2 separate regions of the Homo sapiens genome follow, and region 2 is linked to region 1. Evidence: promoter capture Hi-C in 16 types of primary human blood cells and fetal thymus (Javierre and others, 2016). All regions are on one chromosome and are shown on one strand. The core of a region is centred on a gene start or on the middle of the fragment in contact, and the rest is flanking DNA. Distances in the headings are between cores, read along the strand shown.

Evidence for each region. Contacts are between HindIII fragments. The CHiCAGO score rates a contact against its expected background, and 5 or more counts as called.
Region 2: a contact is called between a fragment that was not itself captured here and the fragment with the promoter of CALB2 in region 1, in 2 of 17 cell types (M0 macrophages and M1 macrophages). The highest score is 6.8, in M0 macrophages.

Annotation. Positions count from the first base shown.
Region 1 is chr16:71,354,609-71,361,637 of GRCh38, reverse strand. It overlaps CALB2 (calbindin 2), which reads right to left and starts at 2,915. Exons shown (of 11, transcript NM_001740.5): 1 at 2,752-2,915. The coding sequence starts at 2,845. RefSeq lists enhancers at 898-1,192, 2,219-3,184 and a silencer at 2,887-3,116. The HindIII fragment of the contact is 14,542 bases long and covers 1-7,029 here.
Region 2 is chr16:70,707,354-70,714,557 of GRCh38, reverse strand. The region is part of intron 14 of VAC14 (VAC14 component of PIKFYVE complex); the gene reads left to right. Among named protein-coding and RNA genes, the nearest start is that of MTSS2, 25 kb to the right of the region's middle. RefSeq lists an enhancer at 1-198. The HindIII fragment of the contact is 1,810 bases long and covers 3,333-5,142 here.

The DNA of each region.
Region 1 (7,029 bases), core at 1,666-4,165:
AGCATCCAGAAGGGGTGGGGAGGTGGCTCCAACTCTCTGGGGGCTGTGGTTAATTGGGCTCCAGCGAGCCCACTCCAGGGACCTGGAGAGCTGCAAGGGAGAGTTCTCTCAGGTGTTTTTAAGATTGTGAGTGGTAGGGGGTACTCTTAGAATTGGGAAGAAACCCCATGTTGAAAACGGAAACCAGAATTGGTAGGAGAGAGGCCTAAACAGGGCTGGGAGTGCCTCAGGCACTGCGGTGTTGGGCTCACCTGGCAGCCTTTGGGTGTTCAGGAGGGGAGGAAGGTCGCCCAAAGCCTAATTCTGGATCCTTTTGTGGAATTCCGATTTGGCTGTATACATATCTTCCTAAGTCACCTCTCTCTCATCTCTGGTATTTTAATCCTCATGGCCCTCCTTCTCTGTCGGGTCCATGGCCTTTCCTTGGGACTTCCCTGAGGCTGTGATGTAGAGATGGCAGTGGAAGTCTGATGGACAAGGAAGAAGGTGCAAGCATCAAGCTCCCCCTTCACCCCGGAGCAGGAGGGAGCCAGAGGCACAATGGCTTTAGGAGGCTTTGAAGATCATGGGTTTGGTGGTAGCTTAACTACACTCTAGCCAAGCCAAGGACCCCATTTTGGGATACACGAAACTGCCCATCAACCCCAAGGGTGGGCTGGGGGCTTTTCTTTGGGGGAATGGGAGGGAGACTTATACCTATCATCATGGAAAAAAACCCTCTTCCAAACCAAGCAGGTGTTCAGGAACCAGAGTGGGAGAATAAACGCTGGCCAGGAACCAGCCCCACCAGTAACTTGCTCCATGACCTCGGAAAAGTCAACCCCTGTGTCTGTTTCCTCATCTGTATAAGGGGAGTCATGGTCTGCCCAGCAGCCTCACACCTTGAGAAGGTGCAATTGTGCTTAAGTACAATGTCTCAGATCAACGTAAGGATCTGCGTGGTTATGGACAGTGCTCTTGCTTGTCCCTCTGAGAATGGGGGAAAGTAGAACTATAGAGTCCTCTGTTTATAGCTGACTCATCTACCAGGAAGCCAGTGGTGTAACCTTGGCTGCTTGGTAACTTTCCTTGAATCATGCAAGTCTGGTGCAGATAAACTGGCAGGAGCCTCCTTAGGGAATGTGCATGTCATCTGGAATACTAAAAGGCTGCACTTCTCTTAGGAGAGCACTTTGTACCAAGGGAATTTTATGGCAGGAGCTGGGGATTGGAAACACAATCCCTCCTTAGCCCCATTTTACAGATTTAACAATCTACCCACTTCCATCAGTAATTCATAGGCAGATCACAGTCCTAACTCAGGTATTCAAATGCCTAGTCCCCTACCCCTCTAGCTTTCTCAGTTGGCTCCAAGGAAACAAAATTTCACCCATTAGCATCCCCAGACATTAACCCCTGCCTCCCCATAGCACTCTGGGCAGAGGATCTCTGCCCAGCCACCTCCACACCCTGCCAAGGCGAGGAAGGGAGGAGGGAAGAATGGAGTGAGGCACACCTGATGCCCCTCTGTTTTCCATCCCCCTTGCTCTCAGACCCCAGGATAAACTCCCTGTCATCCCACACAGATCTGGGACAGGGGCCTGAATGACAGGTGTCAGAGCCCACAAGGCTGAGCCTGGCCCCCTGGGGGGCTGTGCAGTGCAGTGGTTAAGAACTTGTCTTCTGGAGACAGCATCTGTCTTAGCCTTTCCCGTTGGCCTCCCTTTGGGGTCAGCCCCTCCAGGAGCCATTAGCTACCCGAGGGGAGGGTAGCTACAGACACCACAAAATGTCTGAGATGCCAGGATATTTTGGATGCTCATCTTAGCCAGGTCTGTGCGTAGAGAGGGAAATCAGATCACTTATTTTTTCGGAGTAACAGAAACAGAGTCTCTAGTGATATCAAAAGCCTCTAAAGGAGGACCACCCTTTATGCCTGAGTCAGACCACCACAGACACTTGGAATCCCAGTGCTGGGGGCTACCTCCAAAGGTCATTTGGTCTGGCCCTTGCTTTTTGGGTGAGTCAGTGTCAAGACCACACAGAGCAGAGGGTTAGTCACTGAGGCACTTAGGGTGGTGCCTCCCCCTACCCAGAGATGAAGTCACCAAGAGTACCCAGGATTATCACTATGAGGGAACAGGTCTGGGACTGGCACCCCAACGCTGCCCGCCACCACACCCACTGCTGCTGTATTGGGAAACCTACATGCCCACGGCGGCTGGAAAATGGACAAAGGAAGCAGGGGGGTGTTCAGGGCCCCCAATGCCATTTTCCACTCCTGCTCCCAGCCAATCAAGCTGGGGAGGCCACGTTTCCCTTCAGGATCCCCTAATTTATCCCAGCCTCCAGCAGGGTAAGGGGGCTAACCTAGCATTCAACAAAAGGGGAAGAGGAGGAAAGAAATGAGTGGTCTTCTGAGACCTGTGGCTGGAGCAGCTGAAGGCAGGGGAGGTGGGGGAGATGGCAGGGGGAACCTGGAGGCCTTCCCAGCCCAGGCCACCTCTCTGAGAAAGCTCCCACTTGCTCAGAATAAAGGTGCAAATGCGGGTGGGCTCTGGGTCATCTATGTTAGGGAAGAAAGTTACTGACAGTTGTGCCCAGAGCAGCCGGATGTCTCCCAAACCCGGGACCACTACCCCAGCAGGCTCTGCGACCAGACCACCTCCTGAGGGCAAACGTACACCTGCCCGCATTCAGCGCCGCCCCCTGCCCCCTTCACCGCAGGTCCCCTGGGTGCCAATGGGCACAGAAGTTGGGAGCTTTACTGACCGTCTGCGTCAAAGTGCTTCCATATTTCCAGGAACTGGGACGCCGTCAGCTCGGCCAGGTGCAGGTAAGGGGGCTGCTGCTGCGGGCCAGCCATGGCGAGCCGCTCGGAGACCTCAGCCTGCACCGCTCCCGCTCCGCGCCGGCTGGGCTCTGGCACTCGCGCTGGGGTTGTGCGCCACGCTGCCCTTATATACGCTCTGGAGCCTGCGCCTGCGCCCGGCCGCCAGAAGGGGGCGCGCGCGCTCAGGGAATCCGACCGGGGCGCGGCGCGGCGGGGGCGGCGGCGCGAGAGGCTCGGCCCGGACTCCTAGAGGGCCCTTACCTCTGCGCTGAGACCCCTCGGCGCGGGGCCAGGGACACCCGGAGGATTTTCGGTGAAAATGAGGGAGAGGCTGCCCTTGCCTTCCCTCCCGACCGTCTTGAGTACATCCACCACTTATTATTGCTGGCAGTAGCAATAATAATAACAGCAGTAACAACACTAATAGTAATACTAACACAAACTTGACAAATATTTAGCACTCGGGCTTCGGAGTTCACTAGGTCTCTGTCGTGCCTCCTCTCTTCTGATCCTTCCACAGCAGGAAGAGCTGGGACCACTTTTCTGATGAGGTACTTGTGACTTCAGATGATTAAGTGACTGGCCCAGCAAATTAGTGGCAGGGCTACAATTTGAACTCAGCACTCTTTCCACGCCGCACGTGGCTCCTTCATGGGGCTCAGTCTTGCAGAGCAGCCAAGAGTTCTCAAGGCTTTAGTGGGGAGCAGCTGGAATCAGCAGTGCCCCGGGAGGATTCCGATGGAAGTGGTGTGGGGTGGGGGTGGGGGGCTTCCACTGTCTGTTTGGGTCTTCGTATATCCGTCCCCTCGGAGCCTCCCTCCACCCCTGGTACCTGCCTCACGCTGGCCATGCTCTGGGGGGCTTTTAGACATTTGGCCAGGGGGTGGCAGAACTAGATCAACCCGTACCAGGTCTTAACCACGCCCACCTAGGGACATCGTGGGAATGTGCCTGCTCCAGTGGACAGAGAACAACGTCCAACTCTGTCTTGGGGATGTTCTGAGCTGGTCTCAGAGAAAATAGACGCAGCTACTGAGCGCACATCCTGAGGGCAGCAGACAGGACTCCCCAGCAGGGAGCTGGGCCCTCTCCCCATTCTCTCCTGCGGTCTGAGCCCTTAGGGGTCTGTCCTGGCCTTGTGGTGTGGTAAGGTAAGACACATTACCCACAGAGTGACAGCATCATCCCTCCTTTCTCCCCTCTCCTGCTACGGAGTGACTGAGACATGAATTGGCGATCTTTAACATGTGCTAATGAGTGTTAGCTGAACCACCTTCCAAGAGGAGAGTGAAAGGCAAGGAGGTAAGTGAGAATGAAAAGGAGGTCGCTGGGGGAGAGGGGAACCCAGGAGGAGACAGAGAGAGGGTTGTCCCTTGGAGAGAGGGCCAAGCCCAGAGCGAGTCTCAAAGGGGCAATAGAGAATGCAGGTTCCAAAACCACTTGTTCTTTGCCTAGGGTGAATGTGTTTAGAGTTACTTGCAGGAACAGACTGGGGGGAGAAGTCATCAAAAGCTAGCTTTAGAGGTACCCATCCACCTTGCTGAGAGATTCACCAAAGTCCCTAGGGAGGCAGGATGACTCAGTGGTTAAGAGTAGGCACTCAAGAATCAGGCTGCTTGGGTGTGAATCCCAGAATAAGCTGTGTGACCTTGAGCAAATTATATAACCTGTCTCTGCCTCAGTTTTTCTCTTCTGCAAAATGGGCATGTGGGCATACGCCTTTTAGAATTGTTGGCTGGGTGCCGTGGCTCATGCCTGTAATCCTAGCACTTTGGGAGGCCGAGGTGGGCAGATCACGAGGTTAAGAGATTGAGATCATCCTGGCCAACATGGTGAAACCCAGTCTCTACTAAAAAAAAAAAAAAAAAAAAAAAAAAAAAAATTAGCCAGGCGTGGCGGTGCATGCTTGTAATCCCAGCTACTTGGGAGGCTGAGGCAGGAGAATCGCTTGAACCCGGGAGGCGGAAAGGTTGCAGTGAGCCAAGATCGCACCACTGCACCCCAGCCTGGGCGACAGAGCGAGACTCTGTCTCTAATAATAGTAATAATAATAATAATATAATTGTTCTGAGGATTAAATGAGTTAGGGCTCCTGCCGCCCTTCATGGAGCCAGTGATCAGTGGTTGGCTTGGCAAGAAATTTCTCAGTCAGCATCACCTCCCCTGGGGTAGCTAATGAATGGATCCTGGAGGGGCTGACCCCAACGGGAGGCCAACGGGAAAGGCTAAGACAGATACTGTCTCCAGAACACAAGTTCTTAACCACTGCGCTGCACAGCCCCCCACGGGGCCAGGCTCAGCCCTGTGGGCTCTGACACCTGTCATTCAGGCCCCTGTCCCAAATCTGTGTTGGGTGAGAGAGCTCATCCCTGCTTCTCCAAGAAGCAAAGCCAGTGTCTCCATGCTACTTTGGTTTTCCTGGTGAGGAGTAAAGAGTGAAGCTCCTACTTCCTGCTTTCCAGAGCTGTTGAGATCAGGGGGACATGGTTCTGGGTATGACAGTAGGGTGGCCACAGTGACCTTTAAACTGTCTACTGGGACAGTCTTGCCTCGTTCATTTCAGATGCACAGTTGGTCTGTTTCTGGGAGGCCCATTCCTGGAGGACTGAGGAGCCCAAGCTGGTGCGTTTGTGGTTTATCTCCAAGTTGAGTCCTGCAGAAACAGCCACATTGAGCAGTTACAAGTTCCTGCCCTGGAGTCAGATAGATATGGGCTCAAAACCCTCTTGCTGGTTGTGAGGCCTTGGGCAAAGCTATTTAACCTCTTTGAACCTTTCTAAAAATCAAGGTAATTAGTTTCACAAAGTCAGTGGAAGCACCAAAAAGAATGTAATCAAGGGGTTAGCTAGCAAGAACCCCAGCAGCCGTAAGTGCTTAATTAATAGGCAGGTATTCTTACCAATGCAAGGATGTGAGGAGGGATTTTTCTTGTTGTTCTGAAATAGTGGCAGTTAGGCCACATCTGGAATCACAGCAATCAGATGCCTCGTGTCTTCCTGGCTTGCTCAGCCTGCCCGCCACCACCCACCAAGGCCAGGGATTATCAGGGGAGATGTCTGGGTGCGGGAGAGAGGAGCATTGGCCTTCTGGGAGTGCAGCATTTGTGGCTGTCCTGAAGTCAAGTTTTGTTGGAGGAACCCCCAGAAATCCCCTTCAGGTTGTGGGGGATTTCAGCAGCAAGGAGGAACTGGAGATGTCACCTGGCTCCAGAGTGGGCTGGGGTGAGCAGTGTTCTGGAGTTTGGGCCACATATGGAGTTGGGACTGGCGCTTGCTTCTGACTCAGAGCTGTCTGATGGCCTATGAAAGCAGCTTAGACTGCCCTGTCCTGCGTCTAGAAGGAAGATGGGAGCCACCATGGTTCTCGGCAGCCCTTGGGGGTTGCTATGGCTCCTGGGAAAGGTGCATATAGTTTAAAGAGGGGGCCGAAGCCAGATACCTGCTGGTGTTTATGATATCCTCGGTGTTGAGGAAGCTAGAGCGGAGCTGAAGACCGCTCCAAAAAACCTTCACTCCACTATGCACAGGCCCTCAAATTCCTCAGAGATCAGCAGCGGGAGCCAAAGCCTGGGATGCTCTTACAACCTGCAAGCGACCAGAGAGGTAGGAAGACCTCCCGCCCCTCATCTCTCCTTGCAGCTCCCTCTGCCCTACCAGGAGGGGATGTCTTAGAGCCAGCCATCCCTTCTCTCCAGGCTCAGCTCCAGACCCAAGCTCCTTGTCCAGTTTGCAATGGGAAAGGAGAAGAGCTTTGCATTGGAGAAGAGACTGGAGTCTTAGCTGGACTGGTCCAAGTTTCAATAACCAAATGTGTGAGGAGAAACATGGACTCAGATAAGAAATCATTCAGAGATAGGAAAGAGAGGTTCGATGAGCGTATTTTAAAGCAGTGACGGTAAAGACGGAACATTTATGAGCACATTTCCGTGAATTAAGGCTCTTGTAAGTAATTTCAGATGTCTGGGGTTCTGCTTCCCTTCCAGGACTTCCCCTCGAGTTTTATTACAATAATGATAATGATGATGATGACGACAATGATGGCGATAACCGTGAGGATACCTTTAAATGCCTTTACAGAGGGTTTTGATGTGTCTTGCTTTGTTTGGTCCTCACAACTCCCCTATCAGGTGTGCAATGCAAGAATTTGACCCATTCCAAAGATAGGGAAATCAAGGCTCAGAGAGATTAACACCCAACCAAGACCTGGGAGGGGTGGGG
Region 2 (7,204 bases), core at 2,988-5,487, 650 kb after region 1:
CTTCCTCTCCCATGAGCTGAGCCCCTCCTTCCAGCCCTTTTCCTGAAGAAGACCCCCACCTACCTCTGTTGGAAGCCCCCTGCCCCCACAGTTGACAGGTTCCTGGAGTCACCTCCATTCCTGCCCTTGAAGCGTGAGCGGCTGTCCCGGTCCAGTTCCTTCTGCTTCTCCTGGGCCCCCCAGTAGCATAGTAATTGGTTTCTCAGATCTTCAGCTGCGTGCCCCGTCTGTGAATATTTCCCAGTCCCTGACCCTCGCGGGAAGACCCATCTATGATCTTACCCCTGTGGGGATCCTCAGGGGAGAGAGATGATGGAGAGATGACTGATCCTTCCAGTCTCTTCTCTCATTCCTGCCAGTGATGCCTAAAATAGAGAGCAAAATTGCCACCTCTCTGCCCCAGCCCCCTCCCCGACCCCCGCAGCCCAAGGTCGCAGGCCCCCAGGATGGGCCCTGGGCCTGGTAAGCAAGCAGGCCACAGGAGAGGGGCGCTGGAGCAGCTGCCGAGTGCCCTGTTTCCAGCAGCTGCAGAGATTTGTATCTGCAGTTACCGCTCCTGGAGGGTCACAGCCTCCGTTTCATTTTTGTGGTGTTTGAAGAAGAGTTCAAGCCTTTCTCCACGTATACACAGGCCCACAGGCCCAGGTTCGGGCTTCCCACAGCCAGCTAATGGGTTTCTAGGAGAGAAAAGATAGCAATCAAATATATGCCCACAGGCTGGGCGTAGTGGCTCACGCCAGAATCCCAGCACTTTAGTAGGCAGAGGTGGGTGGATCACTTGAGCCCAGGAGTTCAAGACCAACCTGGGCAACATGGCAAGACCCCATCTCTACAAAAAAAAAAAAAAACAAAAACAAAGATGCTCCTGAGCAGGAGAGTGGGGAGCCCAGGAGGCAAGTGCTCTGGGTTGATAGAGGGTCCCAGAGGAGCAGACATCTGACTCACAGTGGTGTGGCCTCTGGGGAAGGTGCCTCCCTAAGATTTCATCATCTGTGTCTCCTCAAGCCTGCCCTCTTCCACGTCCATTCCCCTGGCCATTCTTGACTGGGCTCTTCCCTACCCCCAGGGGAAGGACGTCTGGAAAGGCAGCCCGAAACCCTTTGTACTTTAATTGGAAGAAGGTGGGAGCCTGAGGCAAAAGTGATTCAAACAGCACCCAGAATGGTGGTCTTCAGGGCGGAACTGTGGTCAGCGTTTCCATCCTCAGACCCTGCTCTATGCTGGTGGCTGCAGCGCGCCCGTCATAGCCAGGCTGTTCGCGCACGGTAGCTTTTTTGCTCTAAGTGGAGATGGGGGCTTCGTCTCCATTGATAAGACTTTCCTCATCTGCTGGCGATTCTATTTTAGGAGAAAGCCTCCCCCTGTAGTAGGCACTCCTGCCTCAAAGTGGAGCCAGGCCTTTTTTTTCGTGCTTGTATTATGCTAATCACTCCTTGCAAGCAGGCAGACTTTGTAGGAGGTTTGCCTGGTTTTAGATGAAACATACGCCTTTGAAGCAAAGAGCCACCGTAGCTAAAAATACCTTTTCCTGGCTGTTGATCCTCTCATTTGTAAAATGCATGTTTCCATTGTTAAACCTGCAGCAGCCCCTCTAGAGAGGAAAGCTCCACTATCGTGGCCAGGCTGGAGCACCCATGCCCTGGGGAGGTAGCACCTTCCCCAGCCCTGCCCGTGGGCTCCGTCGCCAAGCCTCTCCAAGAAGGAGTCCAAGAGAAGCACACAGAGGATTCTCAATACTTTATTTTCTGTTTAGAAATATTAAACCACATACAATAAAAACTGAAATAATGCAGAATGGTATAGCAGTAAATGGGAAAGACCCCTGACCACCTGCCACCTCCTCCCTCAGAAGTAGCCTCTGGGTCTCAGCTTGGTGTGTTTCCTTCTGCAGCCCTTTCTGTGCATTTATCAGCATGAGGCTCGGTCTGGTGCTGGTTTGGCAGCAGTGGTCTCTGGACTCGGAGAGCTCTGCAGCTTGCCCAGGTCCACCGCCTTCACTGTCTTTGTGCAGAACACATCTCCCTCCGGATCCTGAGCCCGGCTAGACACTGCCTCTACGCTCCCAGCCTGAGCCCAATGGCTCAGGGTCACTGTCCCTCCCCACGGAGGCTGCCATATCCCAGTATTAAATCTGTCCACCCGCCTTTCTCTGTCGGTGGTTACCTCGTGTCTTTGCTCAGAGGGGCAGTGGCGTGATCCTGGTGGGGAGTGGAGGGAGCAGGCCTCTTGCCCACCAGCGCAAGTTCTGCTATAGGGCGCCTCGCCTGTAACCCAGAGCTAGGACTAAGACATGTCCCCTCGGGTGACTTCCAAGGACGCCTCATGTCTGGGGCCCTCTTATTTCTCACGCGTTTAATCCAGGGAAGATTTCCTGGGCTGGCAGGGAACATGTGGATGAAAAGCCTATTTCATCCGTCTTAAAATTCTCTGAAAATGGCTGATCACAAAAGGAATTTTTTCAGCCTCCCGGGAGGGGGTGGGGGAGGGTACAAATAGGAGAACCCCTCCCCTTCCATTTGGCCGAGAATAACTGAAGGAGCCCCCTCCCAGCCATGCTGTGGCCCACCACTACGGCTGTGGCACCTCCATCCTCCCAGTCCTTTGAGACTCTGATCTTTTTACCGGCCTCTCAGAGGCCGCCGTGAGGCTGCTCTGATATTTGCTCTTTGTTACCACTGGTGAGTATTCATGTTTAACTTCTCGTCCTGTTTCCTGACACTTATCTCAGTGCTCTTTAAGTGGGCACTTATAAAGCCTAGAGAAAGCCATCTCAGTTCATAAAATTTCACAAAACCCCTGGACTAAAGATGTGAAGACAAGAAAGGCACTCATGGCTCTAGCTCCTAATCACAGCCAGAAAGGCAGGAATGGCCCGTGCCCAGGGCAGCAGCTGTGAGCTGTGCTTCCTCTTGGGGTGCTGGGGCTATGCAGGTGGGCCAGGCCACATGGCTGTCAGGAGGCCAGGGAGAGTCCAAGCACAGGTCTTGCCCAAGAGCTGACCTCTTTATCTTTCTGTTTGAACAGAGGAGGCCAGGGCTGTGCACAGCAGGCTCGGGACCGTGAAGGTAGAGACCAGCAGGGAAACAGTGAAATGCCAAGCAGAAACGTAAACCAGGACCCAGACTCTGCACAGGTGGGGGTGGGGCCTCAAGAAGGCAAGTGTCAGGGCCTTCCGCCTAGAGCTCCAAGGCCGAGCCAGGCCCTGCTGCCACCCATCCTCTCAGACTCCTGCCAGAGTCTCCTCCTTCCCTCAGGAGGGCATGGCCATGCCTGAAGCGATCAGGCCTGGTGAGGCAGTTGCAGGCAGCAGGTCTCTGGCCGCCCCGGAAGCTTGTTGAGAGTACAGATCGTGGACCTCCTGGAGGTGAGGCCCGCACGTGGTCCATGCATACAGCCAGGCTCTGGGGTTCCTCAGTTAGGGTATTCCTGGCTTGAGGGACCCTCTTTGTTCTAGAGGGTAAATGCGCAGCCTTCTGGGTGGATGAGGACACTGATGGGACAGGGGCTGGCGGCTCCCCGCTGAGGGACGTGGAGCTGAAGCCATGCGCATGGCGCCCAGGGCAGAGCACTCGAGGTGCCCCCAGAAACCAGAATGGCAGCCCCTGGCCGGAACTCCTTCAGAGCGCAGGAGGTCCTTTGAAGGAAAGTTGCCACGGGAACACGAGAGACTAGTGAATCACTGTAATCACCCAGGGCCCATGACCAGGAGGACAGCCCATCTGGTTAAATAATTTGGGGGAGGGAAATGTTGACACGGGGCTATGGCCATATGAACACTGGGGCTGCTGGACCCAAGTTGGGTCCGTGGCTTCAAGGCCAGAGGGGCCGAGTGTGGGCCCTGCCGAGGCCTCCGTGTCTTGGTCCAGCACCGACGAGGCAGAAGGGGAGGCTCACCATCTGTAAACTGTGGAATACGCAGCAGCTGGAGTGCTCCCTGGCCTGGAACAAAGGGACTAGTTTGGGAATCGTCGCCTGAAGTAAAGGAAAACAAACAGCTTGGTGATCAGAACACGGGCAAGGGGCGTCGCCAGACATTGTTGGGGCCGGAGTAGCTCTGGCCACCTTACTCGGGTCCCAGCACTGCTGTCCCTCACCCGCCTCATTCCTCACAAGTCCCCCTGCGGTTTGCAGGGGAAAATGGCAGAGATGCAGGGATGCCTTTCCATTACCCGTCCCAAGACAGACTCAATCTCCGAGGACCCTGTGTGAGGTCACATGCCACAGGGTGAAGGGGTGTCTCTGCCCTGGGCATACAAGCTGCAGGGAATGGGTGGGAAGGGGAGCCAGCCAGGGAAGGGAGGTCTGTGTCCCTTGCAGATGCCACAGAGCATGGGAACATGTTCATGGGAACATGAGTGCCAGGTCAGAAACCCAAGTTCTGGCCCCTCTGTGGCCCTGGCTGTGTGGCCTGGGACCAGTCCTTGGCTTCAGTTCCTTCCTGTCCCATGCGGGTGGCAGGGGCGTGCAAGGGCAGGCAGGGCCAGGAAGCAGCGTGCCAGGCGGTGGCGGCCTCCTCGTGGGCAGGGCTGGCCTCCACGGGGGCAGCTGAGCACATCCTCAGGAGGAAATCCTGCTTAGAGGGTTCAAGCCCAGAGGGCTTCAAAGGGAGAGAAAGGTTACAGCTGCAGTTCTCCAGCAGAGCCCAGGAGGCCCCAGGGCAGGTAGGGTTCAGGGATGCCATTTCCCTGGCCATTTCCCTGGCAGTGTCAGCCAGGGAATGTATCAGCCAGTTCAGAGCACCAGCCTTGGCCATGTCTCCCTGGGCACCAGGAATCTTTATATTAAAATCTCCCCAGCCTGGACCTCAGGCAGTAGCTGGCCTGACTCCCATACTCAGGAGCTGCTGCTCCCAACTGGTTTCCGGGAACCTGCTGTTGGAGTCAGCCCCGTGGACTTTCTCCGCTGGGTCAGAGTTTGGGTCCAGGCTACAGAACTATGGCTGCAGTTTCAAGGCCCTGCTTCCCTCTCGTACCCTTGGAGACAAACCATTGCCCTAGGAGGGTAGAACTAAGTGTGGATCACAGGCCAACACCATCCCAGCCAGGTGTGGTCAGTGCCATCCACCCACAGAGGTGGCTCCAGCGGGAGAGTGGGGTAAAAGGAGCTGGCTACAGATATGCTGCCCCGGAGCCACAGGAAGCTTCTGGAGAAACTCGCTCCAGTCCACACCAGAAGGCCCCAGTGATCTCTGCAGCTCAGGAGGTCCAAACTGTCTTCCCGGAAAAGTGTGTCTAAGGCTCTGTGCTGTGTAGGCCCTGGAGCTTGTTGGGGGACAAAGGGGTGGGTGGGCAGCAGTGAGTACTTGGTGCTGGGGTTAGGCTGACCAAGGGGGTCTTTGGCAAGGCCTCTCATCTGTGCCGCACATGGCATTCTCTGCTAGAAAGGGCTCTGGGCTGAAATCACAAGTGGCCCATGCTGAGGAGTTGAATGTACACGATGTTCCTAATGTACTGTCATTTGTGGCCAGGATTAGGAAGGAAATGGTGATTCCAGCTTGGAGGAAATCCCTGTGGCAAGAGAGGGCAGGAGCCCAGCAGGGACCCAAGGGCTTGGGCACTTCTCAGCACTTCTTGGAGTTGATTATCATGGAGACAACAGGATTTCCTTTAGTGACCAGTCCCTTTGTTTTCATTTGCACTGAGGATTCAGCATGCAAGAAGGTCCCTGCGGCCGTGCCAAGGCTTCATGGCCGGGGGACAATGGTCTCCAGGCAGGGGCCAGACCGGCCGCACTCTTGCCCCTCCTCCCCGCACCCAGCTGTCTCCTCACCCCGGCCTTGCCCTCCTCACACTGCGTTTTTCTCCAACACCAAGACACTATCTCAGCAGATACCCCATCGGTCCTTCCTGCTATCTCAGCTTCAGAGCCTCCAGCACAGGGTTACACGCCTGTCCCCAGCCCTCGCCATCTGACCTGCATCCAGCCGTATTCTGGGGTGTGTCTATGTGGGATAGAAGGCGCAGCCTCTTTTCTAAGACACAAACGCAGACCTCATTGTGAGTCAAACACCTGCTGAGTTCCCTCACAGGGACTCCTTGCAGAATGCGAAATGCTTCCGCCAGAGCCAGACACCCGCCAAGAACCCTGATAACACAGTTCAGAACCCACCTGACTCTGAAGCCCCTTGGCCTGCAGTTCCATGTGCATGCCCAGCCCCACGGCCAAAGTAACCCAGGCCACCTTGTCCCTTCCTGGAAGTTAATTTTCTGTCCTACAAGCATTCATCTCCCCCATTGCCTGTAGGGGCCCAGCCCTAGGCCTTGTGGTGTAAGCTGAAAAGGAACCAGGGCTCAGGGAGGGCCCAGGGGCCAAGTACCACCTTAGGAAGGAAATTGGTGGGAACTAGCAGCAGGTGAGGCAGGAGACAGGGGAGGGCTGTCCTGGGAAAGAACAGGGGGCTTGAGTACCTGTGAATGGACACAGGGGACGGGGTGGTCAGACTGAAAAGACACATGGAAAATAAGGCCAAGGCAGGTGCGGTGGCTCACGCCTGTCATCCCAGCACTTTGGAAGGCCAAAGCGGCAGATCACCTGAGGTCAGGAGTTCAAGACCAGCCTGGCCAACATGGTGAAACCCAGTCTCTACTAAAAATACAAAAATTAGCCAGGTGTGGTGACGGGCGCCTGTAATCCCAGCTACTCAGGAGGCTGAGGCAGGAGAATCACTTGAACCCAGGAGGCAGAGGTTGCAGCGAGCCAAGATCACACCACTGCACTGGATGACAGAGCGAGACTCCATCTTGAAAAAAAAAAAAAGAAAAAAGGCCAAGCCAGCCCGATGGGCCAAGGTAGAAGATGACTTCCATTCTGAGGAGAAGGCAGAGCCCCTCCCGTGGCAGCAAGGGTCATCTGACTCCACCCTGGGCAGTTCAGAAAGCGGGAGTCAACTTGCTCTCTAGAGCAAGCCCCAAACTTAGGGTGAGGGACCTGCTAATCCTGGGGGGCTGAGGCTTCAGCTGCCTCTGTGAGACTGTTTCGTTTTCTGTGGCAGCTCCCACCCAGATGAGACCTTCTATGGAGGTCTCTAGATGAGCCCAGCACAGGTGTCTGGGACCTCCCAGAGCCCGATGGCACCTCCTCTTGCACAGAGGGACAGATGGCTAAGAGGACTGAAGGCCTCTTCCTGTGCCCCTCCTCCCTCCATCCCCTTTCCACCAGCTCCCTACAAAGCCCAGAAAAACAAGTTCCGCATCCTCCTCCTCCT